3 separate regions of the Homo sapiens genome follow, and all the other regions are linked to region 1. Evidence: promoter capture Hi-C in 16 types of primary human blood cells and fetal thymus (Javierre and others, 2016). All regions are on one chromosome and are shown on one strand. The core of a region is centred on a gene start or on the middle of the fragment in contact, and the rest is flanking DNA. Distances in the headings are between cores, read along the strand shown.

What was found. The method cuts DNA at HindIII sites, captures the fragments that hold promoters and counts their contacts. A CHiCAGO score of 5 or more calls a contact.
Region 2: the fragment with the promoter of RPL13A here is called in contact with the fragment with the promoter of TEAD2 in region 1 in 3 of 17 cell types (total B cells, naive B cells and naive CD8 T cells); the score reaches 7.4 in total B cells.
Region 3: a contact is called between a fragment that was not itself captured here and the fragment with the promoter of TEAD2 in region 1, in 3 of 17 cell types (M0 macrophages, M1 macrophages and naive B cells). The highest score is 6.1, in M0 macrophages.

The regions. Positions count from the first base shown.
Region 1 is chr19:49,358,936-49,363,665 of GRCh38, forward strand. It overlaps TEAD2 (TEA domain transcription factor 2), which reads right to left and starts at 3,481. Exons shown (of 13, transcript NM_001256660.2): 1 at 3,398-3,481; 2 at 909-1,146; 3 at 500-564. The coding sequence starts at 1,140. It also overlaps a transcript of DKKL1 not described here. RefSeq lists enhancers at 810-1,310, 1,856-2,565, 2,566-3,274. The HindIII fragment of the contact is 6,430 bases long and covers 1,170-4,730 here.
Region 2 is chr19:49,485,353-49,490,082 of GRCh38, forward strand. RPL13A (ribosomal protein L13a) reads left to right here and starts at 2,256. Exons shown (of 8, transcript NM_012423.4): 1 at 2,256-2,292; 2 at 4,498-4,570. The coding sequence starts at 2,278. FLT3LG (fms related receptor tyrosine kinase 3 ligand) reads left to right here. Exons shown (of 9, transcript NM_001459.4): 9 at 663-879. It overlaps SNORD32A (small nucleolar RNA, C/D box 32A), which reads left to right and starts at 4,614; the gene lies at 4,614-4,695. RefSeq lists enhancers at 1,644-2,143, 2,204-2,323, 2,232-2,836. The HindIII fragment of the contact is 13,590 bases long and covers 1-4,730 here.
Region 3 is chr19:49,463,010-49,467,739 of GRCh38, forward strand. ALDH16A1 (aldehyde dehydrogenase 16 family member A1) reads left to right here. Exons shown (of 17, transcript NM_153329.4): 9 at 845-940; 10 at 1,118-1,254; 11 at 1,408-1,513; 12 at 1,623-1,753; 13 at 2,729-2,896; 14 at 3,073-3,274. Among named protein-coding and RNA genes, the nearest start is that of FLT3LG, 8.8 kb to the right of the region's middle. The HindIII fragment of the contact is 235 bases long and covers 2,011-2,245 here.

The DNA.
Region 1 (4,730 bases), core at 2,231-4,730:
ATTATCCAGCCTTGCCAGGCACAGTAGCTCACGCCTGTAATCCCAGCAATCCCAGCACTTTGGGGGGCTGAGGTGAGTGGATCACCTGAGGTCAGGAGTTCGAGACCAGCCTGGACAACATGGTGAAACCCCATCTCTACTAAAAATACAAAATTACCCAGGCATGGTAGTGCATGTCTGTAATCCCTGCTACTCGGGAGGCTGAGACAGGAGAATTGCTTGAACCCGGGAGGCAGAGGTTGCAGTGAGCCAAGATCGCGCCACTGCACTCCGGCCTGGGCAACAGAGCTAGACTCCATTTCAAAAAATAAACAAATACATAAATAACCCAGCCTCGGGTAATTCTTTATAGCAATACAAACGGACTAACACACATGCCGAGAAGACAGATGAACGCACAGGAAGCAGCTTCTTCCTTGAACCTGAACCTGCCCATGCGAGGATGACCCTAAGAAGACCGGCCCATCCCAGACAGAAGCCCACAAGTCCATTCCGAGACCTGTTTTCGAGTTCGGGTCTTCCCCGTTCTCAGCTTGATGTAGCGGGCGATCAGTTCATTCCGACCTGAAGATTCAAAGACGGAACAGAGTTAGTTAGACTTTCAACAGAACTTCCCCACAGCATGGACACCAGGGAAGAAGAAAGCAGCATGGGTCCCCAAAGGTCTGCAGCAAGTGGGCTGCCGGTCCCCTCAGCTACGTGGAAGCCAGACTGCTTGGGTTCAAATCCCAGCTCCATCACGCACTGGCTCTGTGCGACCATAAGCAAATCACTTAACCTAGCTGTGCCTCAGTTTCCTCATCTGTGCAAATGGTGATGCTAGCTCCTACTTCAGAGTGCTCCATAAACCTTGGTTACTGTCATTATTCATCAGTGGGGGCCAGGGCAAAAGACAGAAGTAGACTCACCATACATCTTGCCTTCATCAGACAAAATTATTTTCCGGCGGCCGCAGGGTGGATAGATGGCCAGGGCCTCCTGGAAGCTCTGCTCAATGTCTGGGCTCCACACCCCCTCTGCATCCGGGCCCCCGTCACCCCCAGCCCCCTCACTGCCGCCGGTACCCTCCTCACTGCCTTCCTCACTGCCCGTCCAGCCGCTGCCATCGTCCAGGGCGGCCCCAGCCCGGGGTTCCCCCATCTGGGCCTGGAGGAACACAGAACTCAGCAAGCTTCCCCCAAACCCCACCCTCAAGGGACTTGAAGCTGAGAGGGCTGGGACTCTGGACCACTGGGTCTGAGGGAGGAGGGGCTGGGGACCTGGACTCCTGGGTCTGAGGGAAGAGGAGCTGGGGGGTATTCCTGGGTCTGAGGGAGGAGGATCTGGGGCCTGAACTCCTGAGTCTGAGGGAGGAGGGGCTGGGGCCCGGACTCCTAGGACTGAGGGAGGAGGATCTGGGGCCTGGACTCCTGGGTCTGAGGGAGCGGGGGCTGGAGGCCTGGACTCCTGGGTGTGAGGGAGAAGGGGCTGGGGTCTGGACTCCTGAGTCTGAGGGAGGAGAAGGAGCTGGATTTCTTGGAAAGCTGAGGATGGGAGTGTTCTCAGAGTTTCCAGAGGAACTCAATTGTGATGAAGTCACAATGATTACCCTAGAGTAATGCCGAGGGCCATGAAGGCTAAAGGTTCGGGTATGAATTACGGGTTTTAAAGAAGACAGGAGGCAAAAGTTAGTGGTGGGGAAGGAAGGTGTGGGTGAAACTTCCCCTGTCCCACCCCAAGAACAGGTGGTAAGATGTGAGCAGCAGCTGCCAGAAAAGAAGAGGGGCCAAGCAAGACTGAGGGGAGGTCTAGAGAGAGGGGGACAGAGACCCAGAGAGGGAGGGGGACAGAGACCCAGAGAGGGGATGGGGACAGAGACCAGCAAGGGGGGGGGACAGAGACCCAGAGAGAGAAGGGGACAGAGACCAGAGAGAGAGGGGGACAGAGACCAGTGAGGTGGGGATAGAGACCCAGAGACAGAGGGGGACAGAGACCAGAGAGAGAAGGGGACAGAGACCCAGTGAAGGGGGGGACAGAGACCAGTGACGGAGGGGACAGAGACCCAGAGAGAGAGGGGGACAGAGACCAGAGGGAGGGGGGGACAGAGACCAGAGGGAGGGGGGGACAGAGACCAGAGAGGGGGACAGAGACCCAGAGAGAGGGACAGAGACCCAAAAAGAGAGGGAGACAGAGACCCAGGGAGAGGGGGAGACAGAGACCAGAAAGAGGGGGACAGAGACCGGGGGGGGGGGACAGGGACCAGAGAGAGGGGTCCAGAGGCCCAGAGAGGGAGACAGAGACCCAGAGAGAGAGGGTGACAGAGACCCAGAGAGAGGGGGACAGAGACCCAGAGAGAGAGGGACAGAGACCCAGAGAGAGAGGGGACCAGAGACCCAGAGAGAGGGGGACACAGACTCAGAGAGAGGGGGACAGAGGCTCAGAGAGAGGGCAACAGAGACCCAGAGAAAGGGAGACGGAGACCTAGAAAGGGCAGGGACAGAGACTCAGGGCAGCAGCTGAGGCCGAGACCAGGAGAGACCCACAGAACCACAAGCTGGGGGACAGGGGCGCCCTGCCATCAGAAGAGCCAGAACAAAGGGCCCAGGCGTCCCCTCCCCCAGCTTCCCACAACCCCCATCAGGGGAGGGGCTTGCCGGCCAGGGCGACTCCCCTCCGGCACCGGGCCCCGCCCCTCCCCTCCCCCGTGCGCCGTGGGCTCTGATCCAACTCAAGTTCCCAGTGACTTTCCGGAGGCCGGGAACAGGGAAAACTTTTTCCAATACAGTCAGATCCCGCCTCCCCGGAGGCTCCATGTCCTCCACAGCTTTCCCAGGACCCCAGAGTCCAGGCCCCTATTCCCCTCCTCCCGCCGACCATAGCAGACAAAGACCCCAGCCAAGCCCAGTGGCGCTGCGGCGTTCAGGACCCCCGTAGGCCAAAATCCCAGCCCAGCCCTTCCCCATGTGGCCAGACAAAGGGACGGTGGAGCCGGGTAAGAAAGGTCCCCCTAATTTCCCGCCCCAGACCCTAAACCTCCAAAGAGGCAAGACTTAAGATCCAGAAAGCCCCGTAACCTCCCCTCGGCCACCCCAGAGGCCCTCCCTTCTCCGTAAGAAGGACCAAATGCCCCCCAGATTACACAAGGGGTCCTTCTCACTCCAAAGTGACACCGCCGCAGACGCACGCCCCACACCCCGCCAGCGCCCTTGGCCCGCACCCGCTCCTGCGCGCACGCCCAAACTCAGACCCAGCCGCAGGCACCCTAACTCCGGCCAGAGTTCCCACTCCTCACTGAGGCTCGGTCACGGGAGCAAATTCGGGCCCCCGGGCAAAAAGAGGGCTGCGAACCATTCAGAGACGGTCCCGCAAACGCACGCCTCACCTCCTAAGAAGCAACTCCCCACCCCAACTCACACACCCCAAAGCAGGATCCCCGACTCCCGCCGGCGCCTTCCTACCTCCCGGCCTGGGGCTGGGGAGCCGCGGGCGGGCGGGGCGCTGCGAGGGAGAAAGTTGCCGGGAGCTTTGTTTGGGAAAAGTGGGAGGGACCGGAGGGGGGGGCGGGCCCGGCCGGCGGACAGCGGGAAGGGGGATCCGACGGTGACAGTTTGGGGAAGGATTTTTGCTTTGGGAGAGATTAGTCTATCTCGGGGCTGGTAGGAACTCAGGATTTGGGTGCTTGGGAAAGGAGGGGGATTGGGGGTTCGGACTCCAAGTCGGAGGGAAAAGGCTGATAGGAGCCAGAAACCCCTGATCTGAGGGAGGAGAGGCTGGGGGCTGGGACTCCTGGGTCTGGGGGCTGGGACTCCTGGGTCTGGGAGAGGAAGCGGCTGGAGAGAGATATGGGCTCCTAGGTCTGAGAGGGGACGGGGCTAGGCGCCTGGAATCCCGGCTACCCTCGTGTTTGTGTATTGGGGGTGCGGAAGTGATACGAATACAAAGAGTCTTTACTGTTAAGCCCTGAGGTTTTTTTTCTTTTTTTCTGTTTGGTTTTTGGTTTTTTTGTTTTTTGTTTTTTTTGTTTTTTTTTTTTTTTGAGGATTGGGGTCTGGGGATGGGTTTTGACTGATTCCTATGACGACCTGGTTTCCTTGTGACCTCACCACAGTTAAGAGTCGTGGGCAGGACCACCGGGAGTTTATTGGAGGCCCACGTAGGTGCAGATTCCTCATCTACAGGCGCTAGTGGACTGGAGACGGCTGGCGGCTGTCCCGGGACGGGGAAGAGAGCTTTGGTGCCTGAGGGAAGATGGCTTAGGGCCCGGTCCCTTAAGGGTGAAAGGCTGCGTGTTCAAAATTACGGGACTAGAGGGGGCGGGAGTCCGGACCTGAGGTCCTCAGGGAAAAGGAAGTCTGATTCTGGGTTCCTTGGAAGATGAAATATAAGACTGGATTTAGGGTTTCCGGAGACAACGGGACTTTTTAGTGGAGCGGGAGCGGGAAAACCAGAAGGGACACGGAGAAAAGGTTCCGAAACAGATACACAATTAGAGTGAGAGCTAAAAGGGATGCTTGTACTCCGGTGTCTCCAGTAGGAGGAGCCTAGGACTGGAACTTGGGGTGATGAGGGCAAGATCTGGGACGCAGGGGCGTGGTCCAGTGCAGGGGCGTGGCCCAGTGCAGGGGCGTGGCTTTCAGCCAAGGGGCGTGGCCATTGCGATTGGGCGGGACTCCGAAACGAGGGCCGCAATCAGAGAACACCGCCAGGACTTCCAGGACTTGGTCTCCAGGACTGAGGTCAACTGACGTGGG
Region 2 (4,730 bases), core at 1,006-3,505, 130 kb after region 1:
GATTCTCCTGCCTCAGCCTCCCAAGTAGCTGGGATTACAGACATGCACCACCATGCCTAGCAAATTTTGTTTTTGTTTTTGTTTTTTTCTTTTGAGACAGACTTTTGCTTTTATTGCCAAGGCTGGAGTGCAATGGTGCAATCTCGACTCACTGCAACCTCCGCCTCCCGGGTTCAAGCAATTCTCCTGCCTCAGCTAATTTTGTAGTTTTAGTAGAAACGGTTTCTCCATGTTAGCTAGGCTGGTCTCAAACTCCCAACCTCAGGTGATCCGCCCGCCTCGACCTCCTAAAGTGCTGGAATTACAGGCGTGAGCCACTGTGCCTGGCCCTAATTTTGTATTTTTAGTAGAGATGGGGTTTCTCCCTGTTGGTCAGGCTGGTCTCAAACTCCCAACCTAAGGTGATCCACCAGCCTCAGCCTCCCAAACTGCTGGGATTATAGGCATGAGCCACCGCGCCCGGGGAAATATAGGGAACATTTCTATCATGGCCACGTTCTCTTGGACAGCAATGCCCTAGCACATAGTAAGCGCTTGCTGGGAATGGAGTTGTTTTGGGCATAAATCTGTGGCCCGCCCCAAGCTAAGCTACTTTCCCTCTCCTCTCTCAGCGGAGCCTTAAACAACGCAGTGAGACAGACATCTATCATCCCATTTTACAGGGGAGGATACTGAGGCACACAGAGGGGAGTCACCAGCCAGAGGATGCATAGCCTGGACACAGAGGAAGTTGGCTAGAGGCCGGTCCCTTCCTTGGGCCCCTCTCATTCCCTCCCCAGAATGGAGGCAACGCCAGAATCCAGCACCGGCCCCATTTACCCAACTCTGTACAAAGCCCTTGTCCCCATGAAATTGTATATAAATCATCCTTTTCTACCAGCTCTGGCCAGGTCTGTCTATGGATGGGTGTGAATGGGGTAGTTTTGATTTCAGAATCTTGGTTTTTGAATTGCAATGCAATGTTTCATTCAATACGTGTTTTCTGAGGTCCCCTGGAGCCCCGGGCCGGCGCTGGGCAATGTCAGAGCCTGGATTTGAGTCAGAACCAGCCCAGGTGCCCCAGGTCTCCTTGGCTATGGACGAGAAGACAAGGGATTCAGCGAGCCTGGGTGCAGGATGCCATAGGCTACTATGGAGATAAAACAGAGGCAGTGTGAGGGGCAACTCACCCAGGCAGGGAGAGCAGAGAGGCTTTCCAGAGCCAAATGGCATTGCGATGGTGACAAGCCAGATTTGGAGGGGGTGGGGAGGGCATCCTGGGCAAGGGACCCAGCTGAAGCAAAGGCCGACAGTCCAGAAAGTGAGAAGTTCCTCTGAGGAACGCTCAGTGGATTGGTGCAGCCAGGCAACTAGAAGCCATTCCTTGATCCACTCTTAGAGCCCCTGGGGAAGACCACCTCCATCTGTTTTACAGATGGATAAACTGAGGCCCAGATAAGGCCAAGGGTTTCTCCAGGTCACAGTGAAGTCGACCAGACACAGGAATCCAAATCTCTAAGCCTAGAATGGGCAAGGCTCCGGGGCTCACGCCGGTAATCCCAGCACTTTGGGAGGCCGAAACGGGAGGATCGCTTGAGCCCAGGAGTTCGAGATCAGCCTGGCCAACATGTCAGACTCCCCCCGTTCCCGGGCCACAACAAAATATATATATATATATATATTAGCCAGGCATGGTGGCGCGCCCCTGTAGTCCAAGTTACTCGAGAGGCTGAGGCAGGAGGATCCCTTGAGCCCAGGAAGTGGAGGCTGCGGTGAGCCATGATCGCCCCACAGCACTCTGGTGTGGACAACACAGCGAGACCCTGTCTCACAAAATAAAGTAAGCCCGGACTGAGTGCGGAAAGGCGGGCCTGGCGGGTCTGGTCTCCCCATGCGGGCCACCAGAGGCCCTGCAGCCTTCAGTCGCTTGAAGGGGTAATGGCGCTTCCACTCACAAACATGGCGGACAGAGCGTGTGAACGAGATGAACAGCCCCTCAAAAATATGGCCGCCGAGGCTGGACGGCCGTGCCCCAGCAGCACCGCCTCCGCGCCCCACGTGATCTCTCGCCGGGCACAGCGCTGACCGCGGAGGTCCAACCGGAAGAATGTCCGGATTGGACATTCGGAAGAGGGCCCGCCTTCCCTGGGGAATCTCTGCGCACGCGCAGAACGCTTCGACCAATGAAAACACAGGAAGCCGTCCGCGCAACCGCGTTGCGTCACTTCTGCCGCCCCTGTTTCAAGGGATAAGAAACCCTGCGACAAAACCTCCTCCTTTTCCAAGCGGCTGCCGAAGATGGCGGAGGTGCAGGTATGGGCTCCGCGCGGGCCGGGGCGGCAAGGGGCCGGGTGGGATCCAGGCCGGAATGGGGTCGCACCCTCTCTGTCTTGCATGTTTTGCGGAGCTTAACATCCATAATGAAGCAAAATGGAAGTCTTTTGGGATAAGGGGAATCTGTAGGAAATGCCGCGGCTCTCTTTAGGCCTAGGGTTGGCTACAATGTGGCATTTCCTTCTCGAGGCGAGGGTGATAGAGCTTCCAGCACAGGACAGGTATTTTGCAACTAGATTTTGCTTACCTTGAACTCGGGTAGTGGGTGGGGGCCCTGGGGTAGAGTCTTGGCCGAATTGGACCCTTGTGTGTCCTCAGCGATGAGGAACACGCGGAAGTGTGGCCGGGCGGTCTCGGGGCAATGAGAAACTGAGTTTTGGCCAAAATGGAAGGTATTTTTATCCCGCTCAGTGCGCGGGCTACTTTGATTTCACGTGGAGGTGTTAATCGGGGTCCCCTGCAGCTCCGGTTCTTTTAATTCTCAATGCCTTTCTGCGGGGGGTCGAGAGCTGTTGGCTGCGGGGCACTCTGGAATGAACTCGTTTTCCGTCGTTTTGGGGATTGGCGATTGTCCTGAGGCGTGTTACTGGAAGTCGAGAGCTGTGATGAATGGTTCCACAAGGATGGGACATCTTTTGGGCCTGACACCTGGGGGCCCTTTCCCTGGCTCCTGGTGTAGCTACTTAAGTATAAAGGAGGGATTGGCCCTGGAAAGGTTTCTTTGTGAGTAGTCTGTTGTTGGGGCGGGTGACATTTCAGAGCCAGGCCGATCTAGGCAAGTTGTGTTCACCAAGCATGTGTCTTTGTGCCTAGCACAGTTCGCAATGTTTTGCGTAGTTCAGTTAACCATATTCCTGAGGCAGTTACTGGTATCCTTGTTTTACAGAGGAGGAAATTAAATTGGAATTGGTGATTTTGGGCCAAGGTCACGACTTCAGGAAGTCTGTCTGGATTTTAGAGTCTTTGTACCAACGCTTACAAAGCATGTGTAACAACCAGTGTGTGCTTCATGCTTTTGCATTAAAACAATGAGGATTTCTACTTTTAGTGTTTTTTCTGAGACGGAGTCTCGCTGTGACACCCAGGCTGGAGTGCAATGGTGCGATCTTGGCTCATTGCAACCTCTGCTTCCCAAGTTCAAGTGATTCTCCTGCCTCAGCTTCCCGAGTACCTGGGACTGCAGGTGCCTGCCACGACGCTTGGCTAATTTTTGTGTTTTTAGTAGAGACAGGGTTTCACCATATTGGCCAGGATGGTCTCGAACTCCTGACCTCAACTGATCTGCCCACCTAGGCCTCTCAAAGTGCTGGGATTACAGGCGTGAGCCCCTGTGCCCGGCCAGGATTTCTACTCCGGAGGAAGCTGAGGTTCGGTGCCTGAGCAGTTTACCGGGGAAAGCAGAGTGCTCTATAGCAGAGCTAGCATGGGCTTTTGACTACTCTGCCTAATCTCATCCCACCTGAAATTCGGTTTTCTTCCAAATTAAATTTGTGGTAGAAACATCCTATACATTAGAAGAGAATTAGATTGTGTTAACATCCTACAATTGATTGGCCACAGTGGCTCAAGCCTGTAATCCGAGCATTTTGGAAGGCCGAGGCACACGGTTCACTTGAAGCGAGGAGTACAAGAGCAGCCTAGGCAACATGGCAAAACCCTGACTCAACAAAAAAAAAAGTACAAAAATTAGCTGCGTGTGGTGGTGCGCGCCTGTAGTCCCAGCTACTCATGAGGCTGAGGTGGGAGGATAGCTTGATCCTGGGAGGTCACAGGATCACAGGACAGCCTGTGCAACAGCGAGACCCTGTCTCAAAACCAAATCCTACAGTTTATTAGTTACAAGGTCTTGTAACTGGGTAGTCAGTGGGCAGAGCCTTGCTGGTCTTCGTTCAAATCCAATTGCTTTGCAAAATACAATCTGAGCATAAAATACTCATAGAAGAACTCAGATATGAGGGGAGTTTGGGCCTCTTAAACTGCTCACTCACTGATCCTGAGGCAGCCTTGCTTTCTCAGTCCCTGTTCCTCATCTGTAGAACGGGGCTCCGTGCATAGTTCCCAGCTCTGATGGCTGGGTGCAAGGCACGCTGTTGGCACGGTAGGACAAAAGAAGGGAATGCTTGCTTGTGAGGACAATCAAAGGCTGTCCTTGTCTCTGAGTCCTTTTGCCCTTGTCTCCCACAGGTCCTGGTGCTTGATGGTCGAGGCCATCTCCTGGGCCGCCTGGCGGCCATCGTGGCTAAACAGGTACTGCTGGGTAAGTCGCTGCTCGTGGCCCCTCTGTCATGGGCCCCCGCTGGAGGTCAGTGATGAGCAACATTCACCATCTTTCGTTTGAGTCTCACGGCCATGAGATCAACCCCATGCACCGCTCTGAGACCTGCCAGCCACTCTTCCCCAGGGTTGGGGACTCCAGG
Region 3 (4,730 bases), core at 878-3,377, 100 kb after region 1:
GGAGGGGCTGGGCCTGGACTCCTGGGTCTGAGGGAGGAGGTGCTGGGGCCCGGATTCCTGGGTCTGAGGGAGGAGGGGCTGGGGCCCGGATTCCTGGGTCTGAGGGAGGAGGGGCTGGGGGTCCAGACTCCTGGGTCTGAGGGAGGAGGGGCTGGCGGCCTGGACTCCTGGGTCTGAGGGAGGAGAGGCTGGGGGTCCAGACTCCTGGGTCTGAGGGAGGAGGGGCTGGGGGCCTGGACTCCTGGGTCTGAGGGAGGAGGGGCTGGGCCTGGACTCCTGGGTCTGAGGGAGGAGGTGCTGGGGCCTGGATTCCTGGGTCTGAGGGAGGAGGGGCTGGGGCCTGGACTCCTGGGTCTGAGGGAGGAGGGGCTGGGGGTCCAGATTCCTGGGTCTGAGGGAGGAGGGGCTGGGGGCCTGGACTCCTGGGTCTGAGGGAGGAGAGGCTGGGGGTCCAGACTCCTGGGTCTGAGGGAGGAGGGGCTGGGGGCCTGGACTCCTGGGTCTGAGGGAGGAGGGGCTGGGCCTGGACTCCTGGGTCTGAGGGAGGAGGTGCTGGGGCCTGGATTCCTGGGTCTGAGGGAGGAGGGGCTGGGGCCTGGACTCCTGGGTCTGAGGGAGGAGGGGCTGGGGGTCCAGACTCCTGGGTCTGAGGGAGGAGGGGCTGGGGGCCTGGACTCCTGGGTCTGAGGGAGGAGAGGCTGGGGGTCCAGACTCCTGGGTCTGAGGGAGGAGGGGCTGGGGGCCTGGACTCCTGGGTCTGAGGGAGGAGGGGCTGGGGTCCTGCAGTCCTCGGTCTCAGCAGGAAGGGACCAGAAGTCGACTTCTAGATCATTTCTCTCCCTAGGTGTTCCAGGCTGGTGATGTGCCTTCGGAACGCCCATTCTATCCCCCAACCTTGGTCTCCAACCTGCCCCCAGCCTCCCCATGTGCCCAGGTGGAGGTGAGACCCTTAAGGCTGCAGAGCTCCTACCCACCGCCAGCCAAGGGCAGCAGCTCTGTGCCTGGGGAAGCCCTTGGGGTAACCATGTGACCTGGGCGTGGGGGCTGCTGCCTGCTCTAGGCTCCTTCCCTGGTGGGTGGGCCCTGGAGGGCTGAGCCTCCCGGTCACCCCTTGCAGGTGCCGTGGCCTGTGGTCGTGGCCTCCCCCTTCCGCACAGCCAAGGAGGCACTGTTGGTGGCCAACGGGACGCCCCGCGGGGGCAGCGCCAGTGTGTGGAGCGAGAGGCTGGGGCAGGCGCTGGAGCTGGGCTATGGGTCAGTCTGCGTGGCCCGGGCGCTCACTCCTCTCCTCATTCTTCCATCTTCATCTCCCTTCTCCCTGGGTCGCTCCCCGCGCCTTTAACTCACCCCTCTCCCGGCCTGCCACCGTCTGTTTTCCTCTGTTGGACACCTTCATCTTCCCCACAGGCTCCAGGTGGGCACTGTCTGGATCAACGCCCACGGCCTCAGAGACCCTTCGGTGCCCACAGGCGGCTGCAAGGAGAGTGGGTGTTCCTGGCACGGGGGCCCAGACGTGAGTACATCCCCTCCCCGTCACCAGCCCCCCCGCCGCCCCATGCCCTTGACACTCGCATCCGGCCTCGCGTGCCCCTTGCATCCTCTTGACACCGTCCCTCTCACAGGGGCTGTATGAGTATCTGCGGCCCTCAGGGACCCCTGCCCGGCTGTCCTGCCTCTCCAAGAACCTGAACTATGACACCTTTGGCCTCGCTGTTCCCTCAACCCTGCCGGCTGGGCCTGAAATAGGGCCCAGGTGAGTCGTTGGGGGCCAGTGGTCTGGGAGTGTGAACGGGGAGAGGGGAATTGATGCCTGTTTCCCCGTGGACTGGAGGGCTGGCGCGAGGTCCATCCAAACCATCTCTTAGTCCTGCTGAGTACCACGTTGTGGCCTCACACTTTCCCTACCCCAGGCCTGCCGAGACTCTCAGCTCTGCCCCATGAATGTCTGTACTCTCCCAGAAACTCATGGGTCTAGGAGCTTGGGGTCCCCCAGAGGTTCACTGGAGCAGAAGCTTGGGGTCCCTCAGAGGCTCATGGGAGCAGGAGCTTGGGGTCCCCCAGAGGCTCATGGGAGCAGAAACTTGGGGTCCTCCAGAGGCTCATGGGAGCAGGAGTTTGAGGTCCCCCCAGAGACTCAAGGGAGCAGTTTAGGGTCTACCAGAGGCTCATGGGAGCAGGAGCTTAGGGTCCCCCAGAGGCTCATGGAGCAGGAACTTAGGGTCCTCCAGAGGCTCATGGGAGCAGAAGCTTTGGGTCCTCCGGGGCTCATGGGAACAGGAATTTGGGGTGCCCCACAGGCTTATGAGAGCAGTTTAGGGTCTGCCAGAGGCTCATGGGAGTAGGAGTTTAGGGTCCCCCAGAGGCTCATGGGAGCAGGAGTTTAGGGTACCCAGAGGCTAGTGGGAACAGGGGTTTGGGGTCCCCCAGAGGCTCATGGGAGCAGAAACTTGAGTCATCCAGAGGCTCATGGGAGCAGGAATTTGGGGTTCCCCAGAGGCTCATGGGAGCAGTTTAAGGTCCCCCAGAGGCTCATGGGAGCTGGAGTTTAGGGTCCCCCAGTGAATCATGGGAGCAGGAGTTTTAGGGTCCCCCAGAGGCTCATGGGAACAGGGGTTTGGGGTGCCCCAGAGGCTCACGGGAGCCAAGGCAGTCTTCCCAGTGCGGTAGAGCATAGGGTCTGAGCAGATTGAGGCCCCAGGACTCCTCCTCATGTCCCACCCTACTCCAGCCCAGCACCCCCCTATGGGCTCTTCGTTGGGGGCCGTTTCCAGGCTCCTGGGGCCCGAAGCTCCAGGCCCATCCGGGATTCGTCTGGCAACCTCCATGGCTACGTGGCTGAGGGTGGAGCCAAGGACATCCGAGGTGCTGTGGAGGCCGCTCACCAGGCTTTCCCTGGGTAAGGGGTCACACGGGAAAGCCCAAGGGTCATGGTGTGGCAGAGAGGGGAGCCTGCCCACAGCAATTGGTGGACTGGGAGGCTGGGCCCCCAGGGTAGGGGCTGTGGACAGAGGTGGGGTGTCAGGAGAGCCAAGACCAGGATGCCAACCCCCACTGTGCGCTGTCTGCCCACAGCTGGGCGGGCCAGTCCCCAGGAGCCCGGGCAGCCCTGCTGTGGGCCCTGGCGGCTGCACTGGAGCGCCGGAAGTCTACCCTGGCCTCGAGGCTGGAGAGGCAGGGAGCGGAGCTCAAGGCTGCGGAGGCGGAGGTGGAGCTGAGCGCAAGACGACTTCGGGCGTGGGGGGCCCGGGTGCAGGCCCAAGGCCACACCCTGCAGGTGAAGGGTCTGTGGGCACCTGGGCCAGCTGGGCAGGCGGGGTGGGGCTCAGACCAGAGGCTGTGAGATAACCCAGGCTTGGAATTCGGGCCCAGCCCCACCGCCTTCCACGGCAGGATCATCAGCAAGTGGCTTCACCTCTCCCTACCTCAGTTCCCTCATCTGTACAGTGAGTGGGCACACAACCCGCCTCGTAGAGTAGCGTTCGCCAGATGATGGATAGCGACCCATTCCTGGACCCTAAAATCAATTTAGTGGGCTGTTAGGCGGTTCTCACATTGCTGTAAAGAAACACCTGGGGGCGCAGTGGCTCACGCCTGTAATCCCAGTACTTCGCGAGGCTGAGGCAGGCGGATCACGAGGTCAGGAGATCGAGACCAGCCTGGGCAACACGGTGAAACCTGGTCTCTACTAAAAATACAAAAAATTAGCTGGGTACGGTGGTGGGCACCTATAGTCCCAGCTACTTAGGAGGCTGAGGCAGGAAAATTGCTTGAACCCAGGAGGCAGTGGTTGCAGTGAGCCGAGATCGTGCCACTGCACTCCAGCCTGAGTGACAGAGTGAGACCTTGTGTCACAAAAAAAAACAAAAAACAAAAAATACCTGGCCAGACATGGTGGCTCACGCCTGTAATCCTAGCACTTTGGGAGGCAAAAGTGGGTGGATCGCTTGAGGCCAGGAGTTTGAAACCAGCCTGGGCAACACAGTGAAACCCTGTCTCCACAAAAAATAGATAAATTAGCTGGGCATGTTGGCACCAGTCTCCCTCTGGCACCCGGCTGGAGTGCAGTGCCACAATCATGGCTCACTGCAGCCTCAACCTCCGAGGTCCAAGTGAGCCCCCCACCTCAGCCTCCTGAGTATCTGGGATCACAGGCACACACCAGCACACATGACTGGGTGTTTTTGTATTTTTGCAGAGACAAGAGACTCGCCATGTTGCCCAGGCTGATCTTGAACTCCTAGCTTCAAGTGATCCGCCTGTCTTGACCTCCCAAAGTGCTGGGATTATAGGCGTGAGCCACTGCGCCTGGCCAGGGATTACATTTCAACATGAGATTTGGGTGGGACATCTGAACTATATCATGGGCCAAACCATATTTCTTTCTTTCTTTTTTTTTTTTTTTTGAGACAGAGTCTCGCTCTGTCGCCCAGGCTGGAGTGCAGTGGCGCAATCTCGGCTCACTGCAACCTCTGCATCCCAGGTTCACGCCATTCTCCTGCCCCAGCCTTCCGAGTGGCTGGGACTACAGGTGCCCACCACCACACCCGGCTAATTTTTTTTTTGTATATTTAGTAGAGACAGGGTTTCACCATGTTAGGATGGTCTCGATCTCCTGACCTCGTGATCCGCCCACCTTGGCCTCCCAAAGTGCTGGGATTACAGGTGTGAGCCACTACACCCGGCCTTCTTTTTTTTAAATTTTATTTTACTTTAGTTCTGGGATACATGTG